3 separate regions of the Homo sapiens genome follow, and all the other regions are linked to region 3. Evidence: promoter capture Hi-C in 16 types of primary human blood cells and fetal thymus (Javierre and others, 2016). All regions are on one chromosome and are shown on one strand. Each heading gives the region's core, a stretch centred on a gene start or on the middle of the fragment in contact. The rest is flanking DNA. Distances are from core to core; before and after follow the strand shown.

Evidence for each region. Contacts are between HindIII fragments. The CHiCAGO score rates a contact against its expected background, and 5 or more counts as called.
Region 1: a contact is called between a fragment that was not itself captured here and the fragment with the promoter of IL9 in region 3, in 10 of 17 cell types (M1 macrophages, M0 macrophages, endothelial precursors and 7 more). The highest score is 8.0, in M1 macrophages.
Region 2: a contact is called between a fragment that was not itself captured here and the fragment with the promoter of IL9 in region 3, in 3 of 17 cell types (monocytes, M1 macrophages and M0 macrophages). The highest score is 8.2, in monocytes.

The regions. Positions count from the first base shown.
Region 1 is chr5:136,229,976-136,232,884 of GRCh38, reverse strand. TRPC7 (transient receptor potential cation channel subfamily C member 7) reads left to right here. Exons shown (of 12, transcript NM_020389.3): 8 at 1,336-1,531. All of the region lies in intron 1 of TRPC7-AS2 (TRPC7 antisense RNA 2), which reads right to left. Among named protein-coding and RNA genes, the nearest start is that of TRPC7-AS2, 4.8 kb to the right of the region's middle. The HindIII fragment of the contact is 1,643 bases long and covers 442-2,084 here.
Region 2 is chr5:136,155,556-136,158,932 of GRCh38, reverse strand. The region is part of intron 3 of SMAD5 (SMAD family member 5); the gene reads right to left. Among named protein-coding and RNA genes, the nearest start is that of SMAD5-AS1, 22 kb to the right of the region's middle. The HindIII fragment of the contact is 682 bases long and covers 1,589-2,270 here.
Region 3 is chr5:135,894,034-135,897,112 of GRCh38, reverse strand. IL9 (interleukin 9) reads left to right here and starts at 1,272. Exons shown (of 5, transcript NM_000590.2): 1 at 1,272-1,410; 2 at 1,523-1,558; 3 at 1,641-1,673; 4 at 2,962-3,079. The coding sequence starts at 1,297. It overlaps LOC124901074 (a long non-coding RNA gene), which reads right to left. Exons shown (of 3, transcript XR_007058947.1): 3 at 965-1,415. The HindIII fragment of the contact is 6,689 bases long and covers 1-3,079 here.

The sequences.
Region 1 (2,909 bases), core at 14-2,513, 340 kb before region 3:
TGTTAAAGAGGAAAAAAAAAAGTGCTTTCTTACAGTGGTACCAAAAATCTGGATGAAAACTAAAAGAACTGCACTTAACCATTCAGATGTTACCAGATATACATGCATGGTCTAAACCTCCCAACCAAAATCCAGCTTTCTTATTCGATTCTAGGTCATCAGCCTGATACAGTGTCATGCCCATAGAGTATGGACTACGAAATGCACTTGGGTCTTATTCATAACACTACTGTATTTCAGTTACTTCGTAGTCTCAAAAGGGCCAAAGAGCAGTGTCGTTAAAGCTGAGACTAACCTGAACTGCCTTCAAGGCACATGCAGCATCTAACCTAAGTGAGCCGTAGGGTGAGGTTTGGGCAATCACCTGGTGATTTTGAACCATGTGGGCACACCAAAATCCCCACTCTCATTCTTGATAATTCAGCCCCAGTTTAGAAAGCTTAATACATGTGGCTAGCCTCAGCTCTGTAACAGGAGGTCATATGAGAGCCCGCCACAGAGCTGGTCATGAGGCTTAAGTGAGCTGCTCTTTGTCGAGTGCCTAGAAGTGTCAGACTCCAGGGATGCCATCCTCCTGTGTGGACACTGCCCACTTTCCAGGTGTCTGCCATCACTCCCCTTCACGTGGGCTGTGGAGTCTGAGAAGAAATGGTTAGGGCTTAATGGAAGGAAGAATGCACTTTCTGGGGCTCATAATGCACAAGAACAAACATTTACCCAGGTGTTTAATTTTAAATGTTTAAGTTAATTACAGTAAGAGAAAAGTGATACCACAGCCAGGAGTCCCAATAAATGGATTGAATAAAAAATAAAGAGCTTGCCATTTTTAATATTCTTTCAAAGTCTTCTTAGAAATCTGAATATCACATTATCTCAGAATGCAGGCATCACCAACCAGCCCAGCCCCACTCCAGGGTAACAACTGGGCACTCCAGGGTAAAGCATGACCAATGGCAACTTTCATTTTAAAAGTTCAAGCTGGCCAGATGCAGTGGCTTACATCTGTCATCCCAGCACTGTGGGAGGCTAAGATGGGATGATACCTTGAGCCCAGGAGTTCAAGACCAGCCTGGGCGACATAGTGGGATCCTATCCCTACAAAAAATGAAACAATTAGCCAGGTGCGGTGGTGCACAGCTGTAGTCCCACCTACTCAGGAGGCTAAGGCAGGAGAATTGCTTGAGTCCAGGAGGTCAGGGCTAGAGTGAGCCATGATTGAGCCACTGCACTCCAGCCTAGGCAACAGAGTGAGACCCTGTCTCAAGATAAATGAATGAATAAATAAAAGTTCAAGCTGATGCAAACTGCGTAAAAGGACCGTCTGTTTCTTTGCAGGGTTGAAGAAAGTTTTAAAACTTTGTTTTGGTCCATATTCGGCTTATCTGAAGTAATCTCAGTGGTGCTGAAATACGACCACAAATTCATCGAGAACATTGGCTACGTTCTCTACGGCGTTTATAACGTCACCATGGTGGTAGTGTTGCTCAACATGCTAATAGCCATGATAAACAACTCCTATCAGGAAATTGAGGTAAGGCCAGGTCACTGAAAATGCTTGCTCTCCTTCATCTAATTTACATTGCTTTTTTCAGCAATGAGGGGAATGATGTTAGAAGCCCATGTGTTGTTAAATGTGCAGCCAGAACAGCAAAGAACAGGCATTCTTCCTGGATTGCTTCTAGAAATAGAAGCAGTCAAAGTCAGTCTGCCCCATGGCATTGCTGGTACCACCATGAGGCCCAGCGAGAGCAGAAAGAACTGGGGTCATGAGTCTTCTCTCTTTTACACTTGTCTTCTCAGGACCTCGTGCAGATGACCCATGGCAATCAATCAGAATGACTTTCAGCCCCCAGGCCCCTTTCGCCTCTCACGTGTTATTTATTAAGTACCTACTGTATGCCAAATCCGCACTAGGCACTGGTGATACCAAGATGACTAAGACACAGTTCCTGCCTAGAGAAACTCATAGTCCAGTGAGGAGATCATACAGGGCAATCAACAAATTCCAATGCCCTGGGGCCAGTGCAACCAGGTTGTGGGGAGTGGTGTGGGGACAGAGACAGAGATTGACTATGGGGGAAGCTTCCAGAGGTGATGCTGGAAGGCCATTTAAAAACAGAACAATTTTGCCTGACAGATAAAGGGGTTGAGAGAATGTATCAGGAAGCAATTTATCAAAATCTAAAAGGCATGAACCATAAGCTATTGATTGCAGCTTGTTTGGAACAGCAAGAAATTAAAAACAAACTGAGCATTAATAGGAATCTAATTAAATAGACTACGATGCATCTGAAAAATGGGATGCTGTGCAATTCTATTTTAAGAAGGATAAATATGTTCTGTATATGCTGATGGGGAAAGACCTTCAAGTTACAGTGGTAGGAGGTAAAAATCAAGTTCCAGAACAATGTATATAGTGGGCTCTCTCTTGTGTAAGAGAGAAAGAAAAGGGAATGTGATTCATTTGTGATTGTATAAGCAAATGAAAAGAACAAACCTCTGAAAGGTCCACAAGAAAGACACCACGGGGTGCCTGTTGAGAGGTGGGAATAGGGGGCATGGTGGGTGGAATTCCTTTTTCTTTATACTTTTTATCCTTTATAAATCATGTTGTTGCTTTACCTTCTACATGATTAAATAAATAAGCTAAAGTTAAAATAAAAAGCACTGACCTATTGACTCAACAATTCCAATTCTGGGAATAGATCCAATATCATTTTACGTAGATGTTCGTTAAAGGAAAAACCTGGAAATAGTCCATTGATATGAGAATGTTTAAATAAACTGTGATATAGTCACACTTTAGAATAAGGTGTAGGATACTGTACATCCAGCATGAGAAAGACTGTTTTGTACTGACATGGGAAAATCCCTAACACATTATTAAGTGAAAAAATGCAAGTTATAGA
Region 2 (3,377 bases), core at 680-3,179, 260 kb before region 3:
CGTTTTCCCTTGGATCTTCCATCTTTTTTTTTTTGAGATGGAGTCTCGCTCTGTCGCCCAGGCTGGAGTGCACTGGCGCCATCTCGGCTCACTGCAAGCTCCACCTCCCGGGTTCACGCCATTCTCCTGCCTCAGCCTCCCGAGTAGCTGAGACTACAGGCGCTGACCACCACGCCTGGCTAATTTTTTGTATTTTTAGTAGAGACGGGGTTTCACCGTATTAGCCAGGATTGTCTCGATCTCCTGACCTCGTGATCTGCCCACCTCGGCCTCCCAAAGTGCTGGGATTACAGGCGTGAGCCACCGTGCCAGGCCCAGATCTTCCAACTTTTGGTTCCAACCTATATTGGTTACTGCTCAAGTCTCCTACAAGTCTGAAGTCCTTGGACTTCCCTTCTCTACTGCTGGATCACATTTCCTGGACCTCATCCTCTATTAGTGTCCTAAGAGAAAGTAAAAAGTTGAATTTTCTTGACTTCCTGCATGTATAAAAATTTATTTTTTTTGCTTGTCGGCAGGCAGATAACATTTCCTTCTGAATTTTGACAGCACTACTTTACTTTCTTCTAGAATCCAGAACTGCATTGAGAAATCCAGTATTCTGATTTCTAGTCCTTTATATGTTTCCTGTCTTTCTTTTCTGGAAAGTTTTCAGAATCTTTTTTTTAATCTATGATATACAAAAATTTCATGTGGGGCTTTTTTTATCCTTTGTTCTGATTACTTGGTCACTGAGCCCTTTCAATTTTCAGTTTGGGGAAGTGTTTGATATTATTTCTTGGAAAATTTTCTCTCTGCCATCTTCCTCAATGCTCTATTTCCAGAATATATTATTCTATTAGAATTGATATTTAATTTGAAACTGATTCCAGGCCACTTAATGTTTTAACAAGTACTTTTTAAGGCACCAACTCATCTAATGCTCATAACAACCTATTAGGTAGGTAGTATTATTACCATTTTACAATGAGGAAACTAAATCTCAGAAAGGTTAAGGCTTGAGGTAGTATTTGGTAAAACCAGGATTCAAATCCAGAAAGCCTGGCTCCAGAACCCACAGTCTTAATCAATAGACAATACTGTCTATTAGATCAGGGGTCCCTAACCCCCCCAGTTCATGCTCTCTTATGAACCAGGCCATACAGCAGGAGGTGATGGTGAGAGAGAGTGAGCGAAGCTTCATCTGTATTTCCAGCCACTCCCCATTGCTCTCACTACCGCCTGAACTCCGCCTCCTGTCAGATCAGTAGCAGCATGAGATTCTCATAGGAAAGCAAATCCTATCGCCAACTGCACATATGAGGGATCTAGGTTGTGCGCTCCTTATGAGAATCTAATGCCTGATGATCTGTCACTGTCTCCCATCATGCCTGGATGAGACAACCTAGCTGCAGGTAAACAAGCTCAGGGCTCCCACTAATTTGACATTATGGTGAAATGTATAATTATTTCATTACATATTACAATGTAATAATAGAAATAAAGTGCACAATAAATATAATGTGCTTGAATAATCCCAAAACCATCCCCCAACCAATTCTATGGAAAGACTGTCTTCCATGAAACTAGACCCTGGTGCCAAAAAGCTTAGGGTGCACTGTATTCAACTAAACACCTAGGACCACCTAGGTTGGCCCTCTATTTTTCTTATGTTCATTATCTCTTTCTAACTATCCTCCATCTTTTTATCTTTTTGCAAAACTTACTCCACTATATTCTAACTGTGTGAGCATGCCTAAGTTACTTCCCTTTTAAGTCTTTGTTTCCTTATCTATAAACCCATAAGTAAACTGAAAGGGTTGTAAAATGTCAGTACCCTTTTCTAACCCCATGAAGGAATCACTATTCCATCAGTGCTCAATAAATATTAATTGCTATCACTGTTACTACTATCACTACCACCACCTTCTACTACTTTATTAATACTGGTAATATGAAGTGATCCATTCTGCGTCATAGCTGCTTAATCATGGGGGGTCAGCAAGCTAATCTAGCTGGGTAATCTGCCCCTTCCCCCAAGAGTTTGGGCTCAGGGCGAAACATGAGGTCTCTATAGTCTCTTTCCAATAGTTGAACTAGTAAGACATGAAATTTTCCGTTATTTAAAAGTATCAGAGCTATGCCCCAGTCTTTTCTATAGAATGAATCATAGCTGAGAAAAATGTATACAAAAAATAAGACATTTCTATTGGCTGGCTGACTACTAGTCACACTTTGGCTATAGGGGAATACATAAAATTCCTAGACTCCCTCCTAGCAAATAGCAAGCTTGGGAGTTTTTCAGCCTATACTTCTCTATTAAATCCTTTTATCTTCCTTTCTTCATCAGTTCCTTCAGCTATCAGCTTTCCTTGGACTCAGTAAGAAACTGAGAATCATATCATACCAACTGTCTAAAGACACTCTAAAGCTCTTAAGTTGAACTTTCACAGACAGCATAATCACTGCTATCTGCTATCCTTTCTACTAGTCTCCACATCCAATGTTATTTTCAGTCTTTTTACCACACATCTCCACGTGAAACCCAGATAGACTCTAAGGTAACCACTGTGATTCCCACCTCCAGGTATTCAAACCATTGGGTAATTCTCCCTGCTTGAGTATGAGTATGACCTATCACTTCCTTCTAACCAACAGAATATGGCAAAGGTGACAGCGTATGTATGATTACATTCCACAAGAATATAATGTCCTTCTTACCAGAAGACCCTCTCTTCCTTACTGGCTTTGAAGAAGCTGTCATGAATGTGAACTACCTATAAAGAAGGCTATGTGAAAGCAACTAAATCTGTCAACAATCACATGGGCTTGGAAGCAGATCCTTCCCTAATTGAGCTTCTGATAAGACCTTGGCCCTAACCAACACCTTGATTACAGCGCCTTGCAAAGGACCCAGCTAAATGTGACTGGACTCCTCACCCAAAGAAACTGTGAGGTAATAAACATGCATTGTGCTAAGCCACTAAGTTTGTGGCAATCTGTCATGCAGCAATAGATGACTAATGCACTCAGCTAGCAGCTCAGCTTATACCATTCATTATAAAAAAAATTTACTGAGCATCACCTACCAAGTGCCAGACAACAATATACTATTCTAAGCACTAAGGATAGAGTAATGAATGAAATAGAGGAAGACTCTGCTCATGTCAGTCAATAAACAAAATAAATATCTAATATAGAGTCAATTAGTGATGCGGATATTTGAGCAAGGACTGAATGGAATGAGAAAATGTGCCATGGAAAGATCCTGGGGGAGAATAAGTAGACAGCAAGAGTTAAAGCCTGGAAACAGGAGTATGGCAAGTCCAAGGAACAGAGAACTCTGAGGATAGGTCATACAGAGTCTTACAGAAATCTCTTTAAGTGTGACAGCCTTG
Region 3 (3,079 bases), core at 23-2,522:
GTTACACTGAGATTGCTTTTTTGACTCATAGTGATTAAACACAGCCATACTGAAGGGCCAGGAAGCTAAGATGTAGACAGTGTTTTAAAGGGTAAAAAATGGTGATGACAAATTACTCCCCACCTCATTTGGCAGCCGAGTGTATTACATGGCTTAATGCATGTAAAGTACTTAGAAATGTTGCTAGTATGGTCAGGCCCAGTGGCTCATGCCTGTAATCCCAGAACTTTGGGAGGCCAAGGCGGGCGGATCACGAGGTCAGGAGTTCAAGACCAGCCTGGCCAACATAGTGAAACCTCGTCTCTACTAAAAATACAAAAAATTAGCCGGGCGTGGTGGAGGGTGCCTGTAATTCTAGCTACTCGGGAGGCTGAGGCAGGAGAATCGCTTGAACCCGGGAGGCAGAGGTTGCAGCGAACCTGGATTGTGCCACCGCACTCCAGCCTGGTGACAGAGGGAGACTCTGTCTCAAAAAAAAAAAAAAAAAAAAAAGAAATGTTACTAGTATGTAGTAAGTTCTCAGTAAATGTTAGCTACTATACTCTTTCAAGTGCTGGGTTTTTACTTGATGTCATACAGTGTTATATAAGATCTCCAAAGATACTGAGGAGTCCTCAAGGCCAATTTTAACAAGCATGGTTGCCGCATTCTTGTGCTTATAGTTGAACATTTCTTCTTTCAGACACTTGCACAAAGGGATACTTCTAAGATGCATTTGCATTAGGTGGCAAACTTCATCCTGGGTATGAAAAACATTGAGATTTGGGAATAAAGCATAGTAAGACTGAGGTTGCAATTACTAAAGGAAAACCCCAACAGAGATAAGTGAAGTTCTGCAATATCATGCACCCTCCCCCAACCCGCTCTGTCTCCCCAGGCCCCCCTTCGTTAGAACACCCATGACTGGCTATATTATATCAGCATTTCCCATAATGTAAAAAGGGAAAATACAGACCTGGGCGTTCATGGAAAGTATTCTAACTCTCACAACCAGAATCCCTGTCTTTGAATTTTTTTTCTTGGTTTTTAGATCTTTAACTTTTCCTTCAGCATTTCAGTACTCAACTTTTTGAAAATCATCTTTTCTGAGGAATGATATTTCCTGGCACAGCATCATCTCTGTCAAGTGACTCAGTTTGATTTTTTTGTTTGTTAGTATAAAGTGGCCCCAACTTACAGAGAAAAAGTGGGCTCTTGGTATCAGTTTGATGTCAGGGTTTTTCCGTGTTTGAGAGGGAGCTTTAAATACCACTCGATTTGAAGGTGTCTGCAAGCGAGCTCCAGTCCGCTGTCAAGATGCTTCTGGCCATGGTCCTTACCTCTGCCCTGCTCCTGTGCTCCGTGGCAGGCCAGGGGTGTCCAACCTTGGCGGGGATCCTGGACATCAACTTCCTCATCAACAAGATGCAGGTAGGCTGCAGGGGGAGCCCATGGGAAAGACAGCTACTGACAAAGTGAAATATGTATGAGGATGAAAAAACTCGGGGCTGACTAAAGGTTCTTATCTCTCTATCTACTTTAGGAAGATCCAGCTTCCAAGTGCCACTGCAGTGCTAATGTGAGTGAATGCTCTTTAAGAACTTTCCAAATTAATTTTAATTTTCACATCTGGAATCTTCACTCTGAAATTTCCCTTGCAGGTGACCAGTTGTCTCTGTTTGGGCATTCCCTCTGTAAGTATAGTGAAATAACATAATGTTGACCTTGGATTTTTTTGGTTTGTTTTTAAGTAAAAATAAGTTGCTTTATTTAATATTTAATGTTATACATTGTTGCTTAATTTAATTGTTACAGATTAGTATTCCCTGTTAAAACCACATTGTTACAAATTATTCCCTTTTAAAACTACGATCTTGAAATCCTATATTATGAACATTTCTTTGTATTTAATTAACTTTATGCCTCTTGAGAAGTTTGAACACTTTTCAACATTAAAAAAAGAATCCTGAATATCTTTTTAGATAGGTGGCCATGTGCACAATTAAATAAAACTGGAACTAAGGATATAATAATTGCTGTAGCTCATATCATATTGCTTTCTAACTCATTTACTGATAACTCTAGAGTTGTGAAACAATGTAAATAAAATGACAACTCCTTATCTTTCATCTGTCATGAATGATCTATGCGCTATACCTCCCCCTCCCTGCCTCCTCCCTTCCTCCCCACCACCCTGTTGTCTGTCTAGCTGATTAGAGTGACTGTTGGTTTGAATGCTGCCCTCTGGGCAGGTAGAGGATCTGAGGTTGTGAGTGGAAGGAGGGCTTCCAGAGGGCCACTGCCCACTACGGCAGGAAGGATGGGTGGCAGGAAAGTTCTGATTCCTAATTCAAACTCCTGGTTAGGGTGAGGAGGAGGCACTTCTCCAAGGTGCAGTGCTTTATTCTTTCTCATGCAAGGCCTGGGAGAATCTGAAGAATCTGAGCTTCTTGCCCTGGCTAGGGTAAGACATCGCACCCATCGCGGTCCATCCATTAGATGAGAAGAGGATAGAGTGCCTTCTGGGCAGGAACCAGGCAGACAGCACAGCCCCTGTCCCTTGGAGTACCGTCCATGTTTTTAGCTGCTGCTGAAATACCAGCTGCATTCAATTGTCACATCCCATTAGCTGGTGTGAAAAGGCTTTTCCTCACTCTGCACTTTCAGACTTACAAGCCTTGAAGCCGGGAAGCACCCGTTGAAAAGAACATTCAGAGCCGACTATTTCAGGGCCCAGAGCCCTCATGTTTCCTGGATGTAACATACAGGAAGTCTCCTCCAGGGGATGTCACTGTGGAAAAATGGCATCCCCTTTAAATACGGGAGATCACTTCCTACATTGGCAAGGGACCTGTCTAAAAATAATGCAAGTTTGAGTAATGGTGATTAAATAAAAATCATCTCTATTATATTGCTCTTTGTGATATATTTCCAAAGCTGTCCTCAGAATATTTCTTTGAATAAATCCTTACTATTTACCAGGACAACTGCACCAGACCATGCTTCAGTGAGAGACTGTCTCAGATGACCAATACCACCATGCAAACAAGATACCCACTGATTTTCAGTCGGGTGAAAAAATCAGTTGAAGTACTAAAGA